Linked DNA regions of Homo sapiens: regions 2 and 3 are each linked to region 1. The links are contacts of gene promoters, found by promoter capture Hi-C in blood cells and fetal thymus (Javierre and others, 2016). All regions are on one chromosome and are shown on one strand. The core of a region is centred on a gene start or on the middle of the fragment in contact, and the rest is flanking DNA. Distances in the headings are between cores, read along the strand shown.

The links. Contacts are between HindIII fragments. The CHiCAGO score rates a contact against its expected background, and 5 or more counts as called.
Region 2: a fragment that was not itself captured here is called in contact with the fragment with the promoter of KRTAP13-2 in region 1 in 4 of 17 cell types (naive CD8 T cells, M1 macrophages, activated CD4 T cells and 1 more); the score reaches 6.4 in naive CD8 T cells.
Region 3: a contact is called between a fragment that was not itself captured here and the fragment with the promoter of KRTAP13-2 in region 1, in 1 of 17 cell types (activated CD4 T cells). The highest score is 5.5, in activated CD4 T cells.

The regions. Positions count from the first base shown.
Region 1 is chr21:30,370,881-30,373,675 of GRCh38, reverse strand. KRTAP13-2 (keratin associated protein 13-2) reads left to right here and starts at 1,405. Exons shown (of 1, transcript NM_181621.4): 1 at 1,405-2,286. The coding sequence starts at 1,463. The coding sequence ends at 1,990. The HindIII fragment of the contact is 2,756 bases long and covers 587-2,795 here.
Region 2 is chr21:31,052,979-31,055,773 of GRCh38, reverse strand. No RefSeq gene overlaps it. Among named protein-coding and RNA genes, the nearest start is that of KRTAP19-8, 16 kb to the right of the region's middle. The HindIII fragment of the contact is 7,679 bases long and covers 1-2,795 here.
Region 3 is chr21:31,032,938-31,035,732 of GRCh38, reverse strand. LOC105372774 (a long non-coding RNA gene) reads right to left here. Exons shown (of 3, transcript XR_937657.2): 2 at 1,185-1,279. Among named protein-coding and RNA genes, the nearest start is that of KRTAP19-8, 4.1 kb to the left of the region's middle. The HindIII fragment of the contact is 909 bases long and covers 969-1,877 here.

The DNA of each region.
Region 1 (2,795 bases), core at 156-2,655:
GTAACTAAGTGCTCTGAAACAGTGTGCTTTGGAATGAAGGAAGTTAATTTTCAGGTAGTTAAGAGGCTCTCTTTTCGATAACCATTGTGAATGCCATTTCCCTTAGTTAAACCAAATAAAATGTCAAATTCAAAAGAAGAAGAATAGACACAGATAAGAAGCCTCTTCCCCCCATTAATCTAAACATGGATTACCAATATTCTTTCTCTTTCTTGGGCTAGGAAGTGAAATATACTTCAAATGTATGAAGATCAGTAAGGCATAGAATTCCCCAGTTGAACACTATTCAGTGTGAATATTGTTAGGAAAAGTAAATAAGGCTTTGTTAGGCTTTTATATCTTAGTATAAATAAGCTTAATAGTTTCTTTTCTGAGACAAGTTAAAGTTGAATTTACTTTTATATTTGCAAGGTATTTGCAACTTGACTCTGAATAAGAAAACCATAATTAAAGCTTCAATTTTGCTTCTATCTTACTGAGAAATTAGGGGAAAGTTAAAGCTCTCTGAGAGGTAATTTTTCCATGTATGGGTTGAACAGGGGATGTTTAAAGACCCATATAACTCTAATACTTCAAGTTAAAAGCTTCAGAAAAATGTTAACAATTCCTCAAAGTTTAAGTATAAATTAATAATTGCAGCTAAGAATCTGTCCTTTTATCCAGAAAAAAAAATTGAAACATAAAACAAAATAAAATTTATGAGTTGATTTAGAGCATAACCATAGAATAGTGCTTGCTACAAGATAGGTTCATCAGAAAATATCTGAAAAACTTCAATTTAAAGTCTTACTAAAAAGTTTGTGTTTATTGTTTCCTAAGTGAGCATTGTCTAAAGTAGCCTCTTGTTAAGGAAGATGCCTGATATGGACACCCAACATAATGCTGCACTCCTCAGTTCTGATCCTGAGCTCTTAAGGTACTAGTAAAAGGTTTAACTGACAGATTGCTGAGGCTACTGAATACAGTTAGTATTTGGAGAAATCCTCCGTTTCTGGTAACAAATAATATGCTTGTGTTAAAAAGAAGGACAATCTATTTTGAGTAGTAACCACTGATGCTCCTGATAACTTAAGGGAAGTAAAGAAAGAATTTTGTGTAATTCCATTTGGTACAATAAGGACTCACTGTACTCAAATAATAAGAGGCAAGATACTCATAAATGTGATGACATATAACATTGAAGGTCAAACCACAGTGAATTCCAGGAAAAAAAAAAACTGAGTGGCTTCCTTCTAAGTGTTCCAGAGTGACTAAAGTACAAGTAAGTATATGAAGATGTGATAAATTAAACAATAACCTAGGGAAGCATTCTTATAATAAAAAGTGAGCAAGGAGAAGGGAGTGTCGAGACAGTGGACACACCCAGGTCTAAGAGCATATATAACTTGGAGTCCAGACTATGACATTCAAACTCAGAGAATCTTTCCACTATAACTCAGCTGAACTCACATCTCCCGTCAACATGTCCTACAACTGCTGCTCTGGAAACTTCTCCTCCCGCTCCTGTGGTGACTACCTGCGCTACCCAGCATCCTCACGTGGCTTTTCCTACCCCAGCAATCTGGTCTACAGCACTGACCTCTGCTCTCCCAGCACCTGCCAGCTGGGTTCCTCTCTCTATAGGGGCTGTCAGGAGATCTGCTGGGAGCCCACCAGCTGCCAGACGTCCTATGTGGAGTCCAGCCCCTGCCAGACCTCCTGCTACCGCCCCAGAACCTCCTTGCTCTGCAGTCCTTGCAAGACGACTTACTCTGGGTCTCTAGGCTTTGGATCCAGCAGCTGCCGCTCCCTGGGCTATGGATCGAGGAGCTGCTACTCAGTGGGCTGTGGGTCCAGTGGTGTCAGATCCCTGGGTTATGGAAGCTGTGGCTTCCCTTCCCTCGGCTATGGATCTGGATTCTGCCGCCCAACCTACTTGGCTTCTAGGAGCTGCCAGTCTCCTTGTTACAGACCAGCCTATGGATCAACCTTCTGCAGATCAACTTGCTGAATTTCCAGACCTTTTAAGCAAAGTGTCTCAGTCTCTACGTAGAGCTGTTATCATAGGCATTTCCAGCAATGTGAGCTAACCCCTCTTACTACTAGCTCTTCATCCTTTCTCTGGCATCAAGTACTGGCTGGACAGGCTAGTTCTTTCAGACTGTGAAATTAATGAATGAGCAAAATATAGAGTCAAATGTCTATAATTTTGAAACAAGTGATTCGTTATCACGTAAGTTCATCTTATAAAGTATATGGAAGTTCAGTTTTGTTTCACGTAATAAATTCATTTACTGTTGATTCCAATATGTTCTCTTTGTCTTTTATTGGTTTCCAAAGTTTGATTTGTGATCTGTTTTGGGGGCTCCAGGCCCCCAGACGTCTTTTCCTTGGACATCCATTTCCATCGGTAATGTCATCAGGCCTAGTGTGTGGGGAGATTCTCCGGGCATGCCAGTGCCTAAAAGACTGAGCAAGTGCATGTCTTCTGCCATGAAAACTGGTTGGATTCTTAACAGAATTATTGAGAGTACACTCATAATGGTGGTGTGTTTTCAAGGAAGACACATTTTGCTGACAATCATATTTGCTTTTTGTTTACATTTTTAAAAGAGTATTTAGAGTTTTCTCAGAAGATGTCAACTAGGTGATTAAATATAAAATTATGAAATATTTGAATAAATCTGAAATGTTATGATGGAAAAGGGAAAATATGAAATGTTAGGTACTGGAGGACATTACGGTTGTGTTTAAATATAGGAGAAAATTAATTATTCAGTGTGTGTGTGTGTTTGTGTTGTGTGTGTGTGAGAAAG
Region 2 (2,795 bases), core at 215-2,714, 680 kb before region 1:
TGATGGATTTCTTAACCTTGGGTTTACAGGTAGACTTCATGGTTTTATAAATTTCATGAAATTTTATGCCAAATATATTTATGTGCATTTTCAGAGGAGAGGATTTATAGTTTTAAACAGATTCTCTAGTAATTCCAGACTCTAAGGTTAAGACCCATGGCTTCAGACCAACGTGTGGTGGAGATCTTATCAATAGTGAAGAGTCCAGCTCCAGGTTGAAGTCCTAGGTATGATCTCTCAGGTCTGACCAAAGGCAATTGCAAGGCTTTTCCTGGCAGGTCTCATGGGAGAGAGTTGTCCTCCCCACATCGTAGTGTCTGGAGGAGGGAGGTGCAGTCAAGGATTCAAGTCCCTCCACACTTACTGCTCATACTTACAGATATTTGCATTCATAGCCAAGACATCTCTATTTGGGGTCCTCCTTATCTATAGCCCTGCTAGAGGCGGGGGCACTTTTCAGGTACATCCACCAAGATGTTCCTTATAGGGGGACCTTGACTAAGACTCTTCTCTCCATTGGGTACTCTGACCCAGTACTTTTTAACCCTAGTTCTTCCCCCTCCTTCCTTTTTCTGTTTGTCTCTTGCCTTCACTCTCGTGGTAAATGAATAAAGGCCTGGTTGTTTCTTTCAGTTTGGCTTGTTGTCCTGTTTGATCACCTCGGGATCTGGCAGCTCAACAGGAACCAAGGGATTTTAAGAGGTCTCTTCTCCTTGGAAAGGTAACACTAAAATAGTTATTTAAGGGAGATCTTTACAAAAGAATGTGAATTCTCAGAGACATGGTTAATTCCAAGGAGCCTCAAAATGACTCATGTTCTTAATAATTCAGCTGGATTCTTCTTTACTTGGCCGGTAATACGATTTTAGTTCTATTTGGCATTTGGAAACTGGTGAAGTACTCCATCAAATTCTGGCTTTTTCTTCCAAATGTTCCACCAGGGTCACCTGTGGCCTCTGGTGTTAGTCAGACTATCCAACTACAATTATAGCACAAAACCACTCATTAGAATGGATCCCAGGCTTACACTTACACAATAGGCTCAGAGAACAGCCACACCTGCCTTATGTTAGGAACCTCATCCATGCATTTGTGCACACACTCAGGCTTATATGCATTTATTTCACTCAATAATTTTTACTAATCTATCTGGCATTTTCCAATTCTCTTAGAACCAGGGCCTTACTACTCCTATGTAACCGAGTTGGACAGAAAGATGAGGGCAGGGCATTGGCATGTGTTGAGCAGTGACCTTTAAGAACTATGAAAAATGCTTTTATAAACCTTATCTCCTGTGATCCTTCCATGAGTGTCATTTCATAGAAGAGGATATGGATTCACAGGTTAAGTAACATGCCCAAGGGAGCAAGTGGTGGCTTTGGGATATCATTGCAAAATCTGTGTCCTTTACCCCCGCCCACAGCATTTCCCTGGATGGAGGTCTGCTCTGTCCAACTTACCATTGTCTATTGAAGTTATCCATGATGTAATAAGACTATTAATGTTTGTATTAGTCTGTTCAGGCTGCGATAAAAAAATGCTACAGACTGGGTGGCTTGAACAACAGAAATTTATTTTCTCACAGTTCAGGAGGCTGGAACTCCAAAATCAAGGCCAGTGGGATTGTTTTTTTCTAAGGCCTCTCTCCTTGCCTTGTAGCTGGGCCACCTCCTTGCTGTGAACTCGTGTGGTCTTCTCTCCATGTGTGCACATTCCTAGTGTTTCTCTGTGTGCCCAAATATCCTTTTTTTTTTTTTTTAAAGATGGAGTCTTGCTCTGTCGACCAGGCTGGAGTGCAGTGGCACGATCTCGGCTCACTGCAACCTCTGCCTCCCGGGTTCAAATGATTCTCCTGCCTCAGCGTCCCGAGTAGCTGGGACTACAGGCACACGCCACCATGCTGGGCTAATTTTTTTTTTTTTTTTTGTATTTTTTAGTAGAGACAGGGTTTCACTGTGTTAGCCAGGATGGTCTCGATCTCCTGACCTCGTGATCTGCCCTCCTCGGCCTCCCAAAGTGCTGGGATTACAGGCATGAGCCACCGCACCCGACCACCAAATATCCTTTTCTTATACAAACTCCACTTAGATTTTGTTAGGTCCCACCCTACCAACCTCTTTAACCTAATCATCTCTTTCCAGGCCATATCTCCAGATGCAATCACATTCTTGGGTTCTGGAGGTTAGGGCTTCAACATGTGAATTTGGGAAGTTAATAGTTCAGCCTATAACAATGTTCCTATGGCCAGAGTTGGGCTCTGGGCTGTGTACGACCCAGGATCATCCCGAGGGCACAGTGGGACTCAATGAAAATCAGAAATTCCCTCTTGTCTCCTCCCCTACAAGTCTTCCACACAGGGAAATTTTATTAGAACTGACAAACAGGCTGGGTGTGGTGGCTCAACCTGTAATCCCAGCACTTTGGGAGACTGAGGTGGCCAGATTGCTTGAGCCTAGGAGTTCGAGACCAGCCTGGGCAACAAGTCAAGACCCCGTCTCTACAAAAAATACAAAAATTAGTCAGACATGGAGGTGCGTGCCTTTTGTCCCAGCTATTTGAGGGCCTGAGGCAGAATTGCTTGAGCCTGGGAGGTTGAGCCTGTAGTGAGCCAAGATTGCGCCACTGCACTCTAGCCTGGGTGACAGAGCAAGACCTTGTCTCAAAGAAACAAAACAAAAATTGACAAGAGAAGGTATACTGTGAGAAAAAGAGTAAGTGGCAGCTGATGGAACCACTTCCTCTTGCCCCCCCATCCTTCCACTGCCTCTCTCAGATGCTTACTCATGGATCACTCC
Region 3 (2,795 bases), core at 174-2,673, 660 kb before region 1:
TGGAAAAACAATGACTTGAGAACTAGGAGTTACTCATGAGGGTGATAAACATAGTGATCAGCACAAATCTTGGCCAGGCAGTTGCTTTTATAACCCCATTGGCAGCTAGTATCTTCTATTTGACAAAAATAATGTACCACATATGAACCTCTCAGTAAATTCAACTTTCCCCAAATGCCTGCTGAGATTTATCTTGCACAGAATGGATTAAACTTTCAAGGCTTAGAAGAAAAATGTACATTCATCCCCAATTCACCAGCTAAATAGAATGCCAAGCTCACGTCTTAAAGGAAGCCTTTAAGAACGATTCGGATGACCCAGAGAGAGATGACATTCTCTACCCCCCATGATGCCAGGACTGGAGGCTTTAAAAACACCTGTTTGTGCTGGAACCTAATTGGCACTAATCCTATGTGGCAAAATAAGCTGGGGTCTGATAAGGTTCAGAACATTGGTTAGGAATAATTTTTCAGTGTTGCTTAAAATTAGTATTTTTTTATTTTTATTTTATTTTTTGAGACAGGTCTTACTCTGTCACCCAGGCTGGAGTGCAGTAGCATGATCTCGGCTCACTGCAACCTCTGCCTCCTGGGCTCAAGTGATTCTCATGCCTCAGCCTCCTGAGTAGCTGGGGAGCATGCACCTCCATGCCCGGCTAATTTTTGTATTTTTGGTAGAGACAGGGTTTCACCATGTTGCCTAAACTGGTCTTGAACCCCTGAGCTCAAGCAATTCACCTGCCTCAGCCTCCCAAAGTGCTGGGATTACAGGTGTGAGCCACTGCATCCAGCCAAAATTCATATTTTTTAAATTAAACTTTGGTGACTACTATCTGGGAGGTGCTTGGAAGTAGTAAAACAAAACAAAATCTCTGTGCATTTTGTAAATGTCCCTGATTTATTGGCTATTTTCTTATCTATTATTAGTTGACAGTAGATGATAAATATCTATAAATAAAGAAGTAAGCTTTTGCTAGTTCCTCTATAATGTCTAATTTGTGTTGTAGGTAATTTGAAACAGTTGAATCCCAATTGACTTCAGATCAGGAAATATTTGTGTTTATGATTTGGAATAATGTTTTGGTATTAGTCAGGATAATACAGACTATGCTGCAGTAACAAGTACACCCTCAAATCTCAGGCTTAATCCAGTAAAGTTATTTATGACTCTTGTCTAAGTCTTACTCAGTGAGTCACTTCTCCTTGGAGCTCTCCTATAGTGACTCAGGGATCTGGGCTGCTATGTCTTACAGCTCTGCTATCTCATTGTTCCAGCCACACTAAAGGGAGAGAAGAGAACATAGAGAAAACATAGCTGCCTTTGACTGCTTTGGATGAGATGAAACATATTAGTTCTGCTCCTTTTCCCATTAGCAAGTATTCAACCTTTTGTCTCTGTGTGCCCCGAAAAGGGAGAATTGGTGGTCTTTCCACAGTTACTTTTCTGGATTGTTTTGCATATCTTAGGGACCCCTTGCTCCATTTCTGTTTTAAATTTATTGTAGCTCAAACATGCATATGATGGAGATGTGGAAAGATCAGGGTAAATTTTCCACACTTGATAGAAAGTTTTTCTAGGCTGATACCTTTTTTGTCACTCTAAAACGGTACAAGCTGCCTTATTGGAACTCCAGGTCTTAAGTATCTAGATTCATATATCTATGTACTTTCATATCATTATATGTTACAGGTATTAAATCTACAAAATATTTGAATTTTAAATCTTATAAACATAACAAAGATGTCTATATTTTCAAAATCTTAGGTTTTAAAAATAAATCTAGAGAGAGAGCACTGAATCCCTCATTAAATGGATGAATTTCTTCAGGACTAACCTTGCCAAATGGTTTAGGGTACATGAGGGTAGGAACTAAAGCTTATCTGATAATTATTAATTTATTTTTTCAGTCTTCCTGTGGCATCTTCCTGTGTCTCATCAATTATGATAAAAGCATTCAAAGATGTATAATAGCTCAAAGTCTCTCTTTTCCTTACTCCCATTTCTGTCTATGTAACTCAGTTTGTGCCATCTTCTTTCTCCACCTGGCCTTAACCATCTGCACCAAGAAAAAAAAATCCCATTTACATAATAGCATTTTGGCAGATTAGGACTTTCACTGAAGTTTCAGGGTGGGAGGGGCACAGAGTGTGATGGAAAAATGATCAGGTAAGGCCATTTCCTCCACCATCTTGCCTTGGAGCCTATTCCAGCCTAGCTTTGCCCAAGCTCACACTCTCCATGTGTGACCCATTCATTATGTGAATCTTTAAGAAAGTGATTCTGTTTCTGGATCTCCTTGAGAAAAATCCCTTTCTGCTCTTTTCTTTAGGACCCCAGAAATTTTAGAAAACAGATTTTTTTCCATTTTGTCATATTTTATATCTTGTGTACGTCCTAATAAGCTTTCAGGTGATTTACAGTAAAACAAAGTATCACATTAAAACCATCAAGCATTAGAGACAAAGGACAAGAGGCAGGGCAACTATGCTAGATAACCTAGGCTAAGGGAAAACTGTAATTGAGTTAAGAAAAACCTAGCTCTGAGGTTCCTAGCTGCCGAAGTCATTAAGGAAACTAATTAATCTTCATTTTAGTTGATTGAAATGCTTGTTTTTTTTTTAGTTTGCCATGACTCTTCTTAATTTCGGCTGTGTTACCCAATGTTTGGCCCAGCTTTATTTCACTTATCTCTTTAATGTACATTGCTTCTCCGTTTTTGTTCATTGACCCAAGTCAGTTTGGGTAAATTCATTAACACAATCTCATTGGCCCAAGTCAATGAAAGAAACATTGAC